2 separate regions of the Homo sapiens genome follow, and region 1 is linked to region 2. Evidence: promoter capture Hi-C in 16 types of primary human blood cells and fetal thymus (Javierre and others, 2016). All regions are on one chromosome and are shown on one strand. The core of a region is centred on a gene start or on the middle of the fragment in contact, and the rest is flanking DNA. Distances in the headings are between cores, read along the strand shown.

Region 1 (4,755 bases), core at 94-2,593, 280 kb before region 2:
GCTTTCACCCTCAGCTCGCCCTAACATGCCTATCAAGGGCTGGAACCCAGCAGCCCCAGGCAGATTCAGATGCCCGCAACAGGCCCTCACCCCATGCACGAGCTCTCACGGGCCACATCCATATGCTCCAAGAACAGCACACACAGCCTTCACATGCCAGTCTGGACTGAGCCTGTGTCTCCAGAAAGACAGTCCCCACCCAGCCACCAAGTCTCCCCAATCCACAGACAGGCAGACTAAGGCCACACAGGAAGCCCAAACTCACACAGCCCACCAGAGGCCAGGCCTGGGCAATAAACCCAAGAGTAGATTCTCAGACCTGGCCCTCATCCCCCAACTAGGCCATCCTTTCTCCCATAGCTTAACCACCCCTGCCTCCTCAGTTTCCGGGCCACTTGAAATGTGTTAGCTCAAGAACCTGAAGAGACAGGAGGCAGGACGCCTGGGTTTCTCTCCAATTTTGTAAAAAAAAAAAAAAAAAAACTCTCAGAGCCTCCATTTCTCTCTCTAGAGAATGAACAGGCATTGTCTAGGCCTGGGTAAATAGCTCTGAGGAGCTAGAGCCCAAAGCTCTGGGCCTCTATTTACACCTCCAGTGAATGGACACAAACTCAGCATCTCTCCAGAGCCACAACTCCCAGTGGCTCCAGCACAAGGGCTTGGGAGTGAGTAGAGAAGGGGAGGGACATCACCCAGACCATCTGTCCCTGTTGCTGCCTGTCCCCAGCAGCAGGAGTAGAGGCAGCAAGGTGGGGGGACGGAGGAGATGTGTCATCCAGCCCTGGAGTCAGCCATAGCCCCCCTCCCACCTCTAGCAAATTGGAAGCCTTTAGGAAGGGGGAGAGAAGAGCCCAGAACTAGTAAAGTTTTCTCAGGGTGGAAGCTGCATCCCGGGGCTGAGGGGGGCACCTCCAGCTGGGTATTGCCATGGTAACCAGGCTGACTCGAGGGCAGGCCTCCTCCCTTTAGGGACTGGCCACAGGTCAGCAGGCCTGAGCGCCCCGGCGGCTCTGGGCTGGGGCACCTCTCCCCCAGCCCGCAGATCAGGCCCGGGCCGGGCTGAGGGCCTTCCGCCCACCCCCAACAGGCTCGCAGGGTGCCCAGACTTACCTGGGAGAACTGAGGGGGCCAGGAGAGGTACGGGGGAGCGACTGCAAGCCCAGAGGAGTCCTGGCAGGGGTGAGGGCTGACGGGGGGACAACTTCAGCAGCTCATGTCCCGAGTGGGACGGGCAGGCCCGACTGGGAGCTCCAGTCCGCCGGCCGCACAAAGACTCGCACGCACTGCCTCGGCCCGCCCCGCGGCGGCCGCTGTCCCGGGGGAAAGTTACAATGGCCACTGGGCCGGGGGCCGGGGGCCAGGGGGCCGGCCTGGGGGGCGGGGGGCCGCGGGGAGTCCGGAGCCTTCTTTGTTTGCAAGGTTTCCCTCAACAATGGCTGCTCCGCTCTTTCCTCTCTCCTCCTCCTCCTTCTCGGCTCTCCCCGCCGCCGCCTCTTGCTGCCTCTGCCTCCGAGCAGCCCGCCCGCCCTCCCCAGGCCACCGGGCCCCTCTGCTGGGGGCACCAGGAGAGGCAGGACCCGGCACTCACACTCACTCACACTCGCACACTCAAACACACACGCAGCGCCCGCCGGCTGCCTGCCTTTCTCCCTTTCTCTCCCTGCCTCCCTCCCTCCCCGCTCGCTCTCTCCGAGCCTCTCTCAGAATGAGGCCCCAGGGCGGGCGGAGGGTGGAGCTGCCCCCACCGGCCCCGCCCCCTCCCTGAGAGGAAAGAGGAAGAGCAAGGGAGGGAGGGAGGCTGGGACGGAGGGACTGCTGAGAAAAACAAAAGAGAGACAGAGACTGGGAGAGACAGGGGACGGATCAGATTGGGCCAGGAGAGACCTGGATGGAGGAGAGGCCTGTGGGGGCCAGGAACGAAATGCAGCCCGCCTCCCCCGAGCCCCAGGCACGGTGCTCAGGAGTGAGCAGGTGGGCCAAAGCCACTGGCAGAGATGGAGGAGGGCGGGCTCCTCTCTGCAGACTCCAAGATCTTCAAAGCACCTCCCAAACCTCCCCCAAATCTTTCTCGCCCCTGTGATCGCTCAGGTTGAAGGCTGGCCCGGACTGCCAGCCTGGGCTCCCCTGGTGAAATCCTGGAGCAGCTGGGGGGAGAGGCTCCAGGGGGTTATTTTTGACAGACACACATTCTGACATCAGACTGTAAACACTGATTGGAGGAAGGGGGACACTCCAGGCTTCCCTGCCCCCAACCCAGCTAAATTCCAAGCCTTGACTTAGATCCCCCTTAACAGGAAGCCCCCTTCCCCACCACCACTGAAGACAAGTGGGTGCCAGGGAAAGAGGCATTGTCAGAGCTAGGGAAAGCCAACTTGGCCATCCAAGGGTCCCCAGAAGGAGCTTAGTTTGCTGCTGAATCCTCCCCACCACCCCAGAAAAAAAAACGTGTGGTTAGTGGATAGGACCTGTTCTCCCATCCAGCAGGGCATCCCAAGGGAGCAGATATTTCTATTTTTTTTCCTAAGGTAATTTTGTTGTAGCAGGAGGGAATATTTCTAAAACTTGGGTAGTGGGCCAGACCTTACTCGTGGACAAATAGGAAAAGGAAAATACATAGTACACACACACACACACAAACACACACACACACACGGGAAGGGGGAGCACGAACCTTCTATTTCCTTCTTTGCAATTTGAGTGTCTGTTTCTCTACTTCCTGTCTCCTACCCCCAACTATATTCACACATAACTCCAAGGACAGGATTTCTTATGACATACTCACTAGTTAACTGTGCAGTAATATTGCACCTGGCTCTGTGAACATCTTCCACATAAATAACACATCTCACTTTCACATAAATCACTACCTGATACACATTTCAACCTGTGATATATCTTTTTTCCAAGACGGAGTCTCGCTCTGTTGCTTAGGCTGGAGTGCAGTGGCGCGATCTCGGCTCACTGCAACCTCCAGCTCCTGGGTTCAAGCGATTCTCCTGCCTCAGCCTCCTGAGTAGCTGAGATTACAGGTGCATGCCACCACACCCAGCTAATTTTTGTATTTTTAGTAGAGACAGGTTTCACTATGTTGGCCAGGCTGGTCTCGAACGCCTGACCTCAGGTGATCCACCCACCTTGGCCTCCCAAAGTGCTAGTATTACAGATGTGAGCCACCGCGTCTGGCCATCAACCTGTGATATATCTCAAATCCTAAATATACCCAAATCCTGGATATATACACACACACACAGTCTAAGTCATACACACTGGGACCTATGACACGCATCCTGACCTCAATACACACACCAAAACTGTGTTATAACCCCTAAACCTGTGACAGCCTATCACATACACACCCCGATCATTTATTATGCAAGGACTTAACCTATAAATCACCCTCTCTGAAGCCTGCGTACCATTCCTCATCACAGCCTGGCCATAGAATAAACCCCAGCTTTCACAAACATACTGAAATCTATAACATTCAGCCAGACCCTGCAACATACAGCCTATCACCAGGACTTAAGACACTCCCACTGACTCCCAAATTTACAGCTTAACTCTGGGGTAGTCCCACTTCTCCCCCACTGCCTTTAAACTTTCCAAAGTGCATTCACAGGCAGTACCTCAAGAGATCCTCATAGCACATAGGGCCAAATATCCTAACAGTGAGATCCTAACAGAACCCACTGAGACAGGATGACCAGGGTGGGCTGGGGGGTGGGGGGGTTGAACCCTGCACTTCTAAACCCACCAGATACAAGCCAAGCCCTGCAGCCATTCCTACTCCCTTCCCCCTCCAGGCCTCAAATCACTGTCCTCATGGGGAGGGGGAAATGTGCTCTGGCTTTTGCCTCCAGCCCAGAGCTCAGAACCCCACACCCACCCTGTCTCCTCAGACAGGAGGGACTACAAGGGCCCTCCAGTCTCGCTGTGGGGTGGAGGGGCCCCTAAATGCCAAGATGTATCGACTGGCAAACCATTCAAAACAGGCCTTCTAGTTATTCTCTAGCAAGTCTGCTCCTTTCTCTGCTCTGACCAGATTTACCCAGTTGCACAGGGGCAGAACAGGTCCAGCTAAAAAGAGCAAGTCTGAGTTAGAAGGCCTTAGAATTGGTGGTGAGGTGGAGGGAGCAGCAAATAATGACAAAGATGATGAGGGAAAGTACTCCTCCTGGAGGTGGGGACTCAAAGGACAGCAGCCAGCCCCAGCCCACAGGATGAGGTACCAGCACTGCCCCCTGCCCGGGCCCCTGGGGCTCCCTGACCCAGGCCTCCAGTGTGCCTGCCCCCCTTCCTTTGTCTGTGCCCGGCCTCCCGTTGGCCTGGCGCTCTGCCATCCTCCTCTCCTGGCTCCCAGCCGCCACCACTGCTGCCTCCTCCCCTCCCCCTACTCCTCCCTGCCTTAACCCTTCTGAGCCACATGCTGCCCCAGACAGGCCCTGGCCCCCTCAGCCTCTTGCTCAGGGTGATGCCCCTTAGTCAGAGGCTCTCCCTGCTCCCAGCCATTCCAGCCCCAGAAGCTGGTCCTCACCCCAGGAGCAATATGGGTGTTGGGCATGTGTATGTGTGTATCTTGTGGTGCTTCTGCGTGTGCATGTGTGTGGGTCTGTGTGCGCTCTGGCTTCCCTCAGTCACATGTGTGGGGCATGTGCTGTCTCTGCCGGGCTGGGGGAGGAGGAGGAGCCCGGAGACAGCAGAACACAAAGGAGAGACTCAGACAGGCAGGCAGGCAGGCGGCAGGCGGCCTGCCAG
Region 2 (5,387 bases), core at 42-2,541:
GAGTTAAACTTTCAGCCAATGAAAAAGGGCGCGAGGCGTGACGCACGGAAACGTCATGGGAATTCCCCCCTCCGGGGGGCCGAGAAGGGGCTTTCCCGGCCCTGAGCCCTGCTGGCAGGCGAGGTGTCGCGACCGGTCCCAGGTGGGTCGGGCGCGGAGAGAAGCCGCAACCAGAGCCGCCGCCACGGTGAGTGGCTGGATTCAGACCCCTGGGTGGCCGGGACAAGAGAAAAGAGGGAGGAGGGCCTTTAGCGGACAGCGCCTGGGGCTGGAGAGCAGCAGCTGCACACAGCCGGAAAGGGCGCGCAGGCGACGACACTCGGATCCACGTCGACACCGTTGTACAAAGATACGCGGACCCGTACGTACACCTGTACCTGTGCTGGCGCACACACGGCAGCGTCCGTGCAGTCGCACTCGCACACACATGCACACGGAGACGTGCCCACCGGTGCACTGGTGCCTGCACCCACACCCTTCACGCACAAACTCAAGATACGCTCACCCGTGTCCGTACATCAAGACAGGCGCTGACACACACCCACACTGAGAAGCTCGGGATTCACCTATCTACACACATGCTCGCTTGCACACTCATGTTGACGCCATGGACACACAACATGCAACCAAGCACTACAGCCGAAACACACTTGTGGAGCTGTGATGGAGACACACTCTTGTATTAGGTGGGGGGGGGGGGGGGGGAGCGTGCAGAGATCTCCCTGTCGCCTGCGCGCCCAGAACCGGTGCGGTGTGGGACCAGCTGCTGTTGTGAGGTTTGGGAGAGAGAGAAAAGAGCCCACTCCGAGGAGGAGACACTTTTCCCGCAGCCCCAGAATCGCGTTCTCGGGGCAGAACCCCGGGGCCTCCCACAGGAAAGAGCCCCCGCCTACAGGCTGTTCGAAGGGGAGGCCGTCCGACAGCAGGAATGTCCCCCCAAAAGCCCCCGGGGTTTATCAGCCGTGGCCTCCCTCCTGGCAGAAAATCCCAAGGTTGCTCCAGACCGGGGGAGGGGAGCGGGAGGCGGACTTGGCCCCAGACTGCCAGCCTCCTCCCGGCCGTGAAAGACCCTCCTGTTCCCTGCCCTGGAGGGAGGAGGGGGCTTAACCCCCACCGGGGCTTCCCGGATTCTCCTAGACCTCTGCCCGCTGAAAAGCAGCGGGAGCCCGTAGACTGTCGAGGGCCTCCCGCCCCTCCCGTCGCGAGGGCGGGGCCAGTGGCGTCATTTCCAGGCCCGCCCCCTCCGGCCCCGCCTCCCCTTGGTATTTTCGGGACTTTCCTAAGCTGCTCTAACTTTCCTGCCCCTTCCCCGGCCAAGCCCAACTCCGGATCTCGCTCTCCACCGGATCTCACCCGCCACACCCGGACAGGCGGCTGGAGGAGGTCGGACCCTCCCCCAAATCTGGGCCCCCATCTCCCGCCCACCCCCATTTAGATCTGACCCCCTCCCCCACGCCACTCCTCCCAACTTTAGGCGGGCGTCTAAAATTCTGGGAAGCAGAACCTGGCCGGAGCCACTAGACAGAGCCGGGCCTAGCCCAGAGACATGGAGAGTTGCTACAACCCAGTGAGTCATGCCGCCTGCCCCTGACCCGGCCGGCTGCCCCTCGTGTCTGTCCACCTGTCTGCCCGAGCCCCCTCTGCTGCCTTACACCTGTATGCTCGCAGATGCTCTCAGCCTGCCAGTCTGTCCATCTGTCTGCAACTCTGCCTCCAAAAGGAGCTTTCTCTTGGGTCTGAGGAGGAGGGGGGAGTGACCACTGAAGACTTGGAGATGGGAGGTGGGGCTGTGGGGGGTGCTGAGAGTCGGATGCCACCCCCAGTCTGTCTCCAAACCAGGGTCTGGATGGTATTATTGAATATGATGATTTCAAATTGAACTCCTCCATTGTGGAACCCAAGGAGCCAGCCCCAGAAACAGGTCAGCAAGTTCACTAACCTCCCCTAGTCCTAAAGCGGGGGAGGGAGAGCATGTGCCCTCTCTCTGGGGGAGGGGCTGGGAGATCGTGGCTCAGCAAGGTCTCTCTGTCCCCAGCTGATGGCCCCTACCTGGTGATCGTGGAACAGCCTAAGCAGGTGAGTGAGCAAAAGGGAGGGTGTGGAATGGCTTCAGCTTTGGGGACAAATGGGGTAGTGGTAGCTGGCTGGCCATGGAGGAGCCATTGCCGAAGGAGGCCACAGGGGATTGGATGGTCACTGCTGCTGATCAGAGTGCTGTAGTTTGGTTCAGGGCTACTACCAGGCACTGCGGTCACTGCTGGCCTGGGTGGTCTTCCCTGATCACAATGCTACTATGCCCTTGGACCTTCAGAGAGGCTTCCGATTTCGATATGGCTGTGAAGGCCCCTCCCATGGAGGACTGCCCGGTGCCTCCAGTGAGAAGGGCCGAAAGACCTATCCCACTGTCAAGGTGAGCCAGGATGGTGCTGGAGGGTGGGCTAAGTGGACAGCATGCCCAAGGCCCTGACTGACAGTCCCTGCCTCTCCTAGATCTGTAACTACGAGGGACCAGCCAAGATCGAGGTGGACCTGGTAACACACAGTGACCCACCTCGTGCTCATGCCCACAGTCTGGTGGGCAAGCAATGCTCGGAGCTGGGGATCTGCGCCGTTTCTGTGGGGCCCAAGGACATGACTGCCCAGTAGGTGCCCTCTACGCCTGGCCCCCACTGGTATGCCCGTCTGCCAGTCCCAGGCCCCAGCCCACCTCCATGAGCTTAGCATCTGACCAAGGGGAAAGATGTAGGTTGGCCCCAAACCCAAGGGCCTAAGTAGAAACTCCAATGGCTTCCTTGAGGAAGTAAGGCTGAGCTGAGCCCTGGCAATGGGAAAGGTGCCTCAGGAAGAAAGAACTGCATGGCCAAAGGCCTCCGATTCTCTCTTCTCAGATTTAACAACCTGGGTGTCCTGCATGTGACTAAGAAGAACATGATGGGGACTATGATACAAAAACTTCAGAGGCAGCGGCTCCGCTCTAGGCCCCAGGGCCTTACGGGTATGGGTGCAGGGGGTGGGTCGGGTATGGGTGCAGGGGGTGGGTGGGTCATGGGAGGTGCTCATGGAAGGAGCAGGGAGGGAGAAGCCCAGGGGTCACACATGTACCTACTGCCCAGAGGCCGAGCAGCGGGAGCTGGAGCAAGAGGCCAAAGAACTGAAGAAGGTGATGGATCTGAGTATAGTGCGGCTGCGCTTCTCTGCCTTCCTTAGAGCCAGTGATGGCTCCTTCTCCCTGCCCCTGAAGCCAGTCATCTCCCAGCCCATCCATGACAGCAGTGAGTATCCTGATTGCCTGGGGTGCCAGGCCTGGTGGCAGAGGTGGCATGAGGGGTGACCTCAAGCTGTGCAGTCAAACAGACCCAGGTTTCAGAACCTGGCCCTGCCACATATGAGCTGAGTGATCCTGAGCAAGTCATTTCCCCCCCGAAGCTTCTGTCTTTAGTAAATGTGTATATTGGGTGTTTCCTGCAGCTCCAGGGGTTGCTGAGATAAGGAATACAAAGCCCCCAGCTTCTTAAATGTGGCCTTGGCTATTGCATCATCTCAACTAATCCATATCCCACTCCATAGAATCTCCGGGGGCATCAAACCTGAAGATTTCTCGAATGGACAAGACAGCAGGCTCTGTGCGGGGTGGAGATGAAGTTTATCTGCTTTGTGACAAGGTGCAGAAAGGTGAGACTGGAGCCCACTTTGGGCACCAAGGACATCGAGTATAAGACTGGGGCCAGGGAAGCTCTAGGGTAAATGGCCCCAGAGATTCCACCGGGAGCTGTGGCCAAGCTTCCGTTTTCCTTGTAGATGACATTGAGGTTCGGTTCTATGAGGATGATGAGAATGGATGGCAGGCCTTTGGGGACTTCTCTCCCACAGATGTGCATAAACAGGTACCCAGGGCTAGGGCCCGGGCCCGGGCTGGGGGCTAAATTAGGCTAAGGACTCACTGACACCCTGTGTCTCCCTGCACCCCCCAGTATGCCATTGTGTTCCGGACACCCCCCTATCACAAGATGAAGATTGAGCGGCCTGTAACAGTGTTTCTGCAACTGAAACGCAAGCGAGGAGGGGACGTGTCTGATTCCAAACAGTTCACCTATTACCCTCTGGTGGAAGGTGGAGCTGGGCTGAGGACCTCAGGGTGCTGGCGGGGGGCCAGGCTGGGCTAGAAGAAGGTCCCAAGAGCTAGATGTGGGGATGCATGAGCCAAGTCAGAAGTGCGAGGGTCCCAGGAGGTGCTTCCTAGGAGCCGGCCCTGAGGGCTCTTCTGGGAAGGGCCCCTGAGGCATGACACAATAACTGGGCTCAATCTCATTTTCCTCTGCCCCCAGACAAGGAAGAGGTGCAGCGGAAGCGGAGGAAGGCCTTGCCCACCTTCTCCCAGCCCTTCGGGGGTGGCTCCCACATGGGTGGAGGCTCTGGGGGTGCAGCCGGGGGCTACGGAGGAGCTGGAGGAGGTGAGGGGGTACTGATGGAGGGAGGGGTAAAGGTAAGAGAAGCTGTGGAGGAAAAAAATCTGGGGGAGGCCGGGCGTGGTGGCTCACGCCTGTAATCCAGCCCTTTGGGAGGCCAAGGCAGGCAGATTACCTGAGATCAGGAGTTCAAGACCAGCTTGGCCAACAGCGTGAAACCTCGTCTCTACTAAAAATACAAACATTAGCTGGGCATGGTGGCAGGCGCCTGTAATCCCAGCTACTCGGGAGGCTGAGGCAGGAGAATCGCTTGAACCCTGGGAGACAAGAGGTTGCAGTAAGCTGAGATCACACCACTGCACTCCAGGCTGGGCAATAAGAGCGAAACTCCGTCTCAAAAAAAAAAAAAAAAAATCTGGGAGAGTCATGGCTGGTGCCCGCTTCCCACAGCCCTGCCTGTATCCACAGGTGGCAGCCTCGGTTTCTTCCCCTCCTCCCTGGCCTACAGCCCCTACCAGTCCGGCGCGGGCCCCATGGGCTGCTACCCGGGAGGCGGGGGCGGGGCGCAGATGGCCGCCACGGTGCCCAGCAGGGACTCCGGGGAGGAAGCCGCGGAGCCAAGCGCCCCCTCCAGGACCCCCCAGTGCGAGCCGCAGGCCCCGGAGATGCTGCAGCGAGGTATGGACTCCGGGGCACGGGCGGTCGGGGCGCCGGGGCTGAGGACCTAGCCCTGACCCACGCCCTCTGTGGCCCGTAGCTCGAGAGTACAACGCGCGCCTGTTCGGCCTGGCGCAGCGCAGCGCCCGAGCCCTACTCGACTACGGCGTCACCGCGGACGCGCGCGCGCTGCTGGCGGGACAGCGCCACCTGCTGACGGCGCAGGACGAGAACGGAGACACGTAGGCAACAGAGGGCCTGGCGGACGAGGCGCGGGGTGGGGGCAGGAAAGGGACCGGCACGGAGGCGGGCTCTGCAGTTTTC

What was found. Contacts are between HindIII fragments. The CHiCAGO score rates a contact against its expected background, and 5 or more counts as called.
Region 1: a fragment that was not itself captured here is called in contact with the fragment with the promoter of NFKB2 in region 2 in 2 of 17 cell types (M1 macrophages and activated CD4 T cells); the score reaches 6.6 in M1 macrophages.

Annotation. Positions count from the first base shown.
Region 1 is chr10:102,113,296-102,118,050 of GRCh38, forward strand. The region is part of intron 1 of LDB1 (LIM domain binding 1); the gene reads right to left. Among named protein-coding and RNA genes, the nearest start is that of LDB1, 4.7 kb to the right of the region's middle. RefSeq lists silencers at 1,059-1,148, 1,199-1,348, 1,369-1,518, 1,629-1,838, 4,140-4,379 and enhancers at 3,849-4,551, 4,552-4,755. The HindIII fragment of the contact is 8,794 bases long and covers 1-4,755 here.
Region 2 is chr10:102,394,414-102,399,800 of GRCh38, forward strand. NFKB2 (nuclear factor kappa B subunit 2) reads left to right here and starts at 1,292. Exons shown (of 23, transcript NM_001322934.2): 1 at 1,292-1,383; 2 at 1,475-1,567; 3 at 1,840-1,921; 4 at 2,036-2,076; 5 at 2,312-2,410; 6 at 2,491-2,642; 7 at 2,889-2,995; 8 at 3,114-3,272; 9 at 3,568-3,672; 10 at 3,799-3,884; 11 at 3,972-4,110; 12 at 4,326-4,451; 13 at 4,875-5,084; 14 at 5,164-5,305. The coding sequence starts at 1,547. RefSeq lists enhancers at 1-257, 1,308-1,357, 1,768-1,887, 3,359-3,653 and a silencer at 4,868-5,187. The HindIII fragment of the contact is 5,152 bases long and covers 1-3,424 here.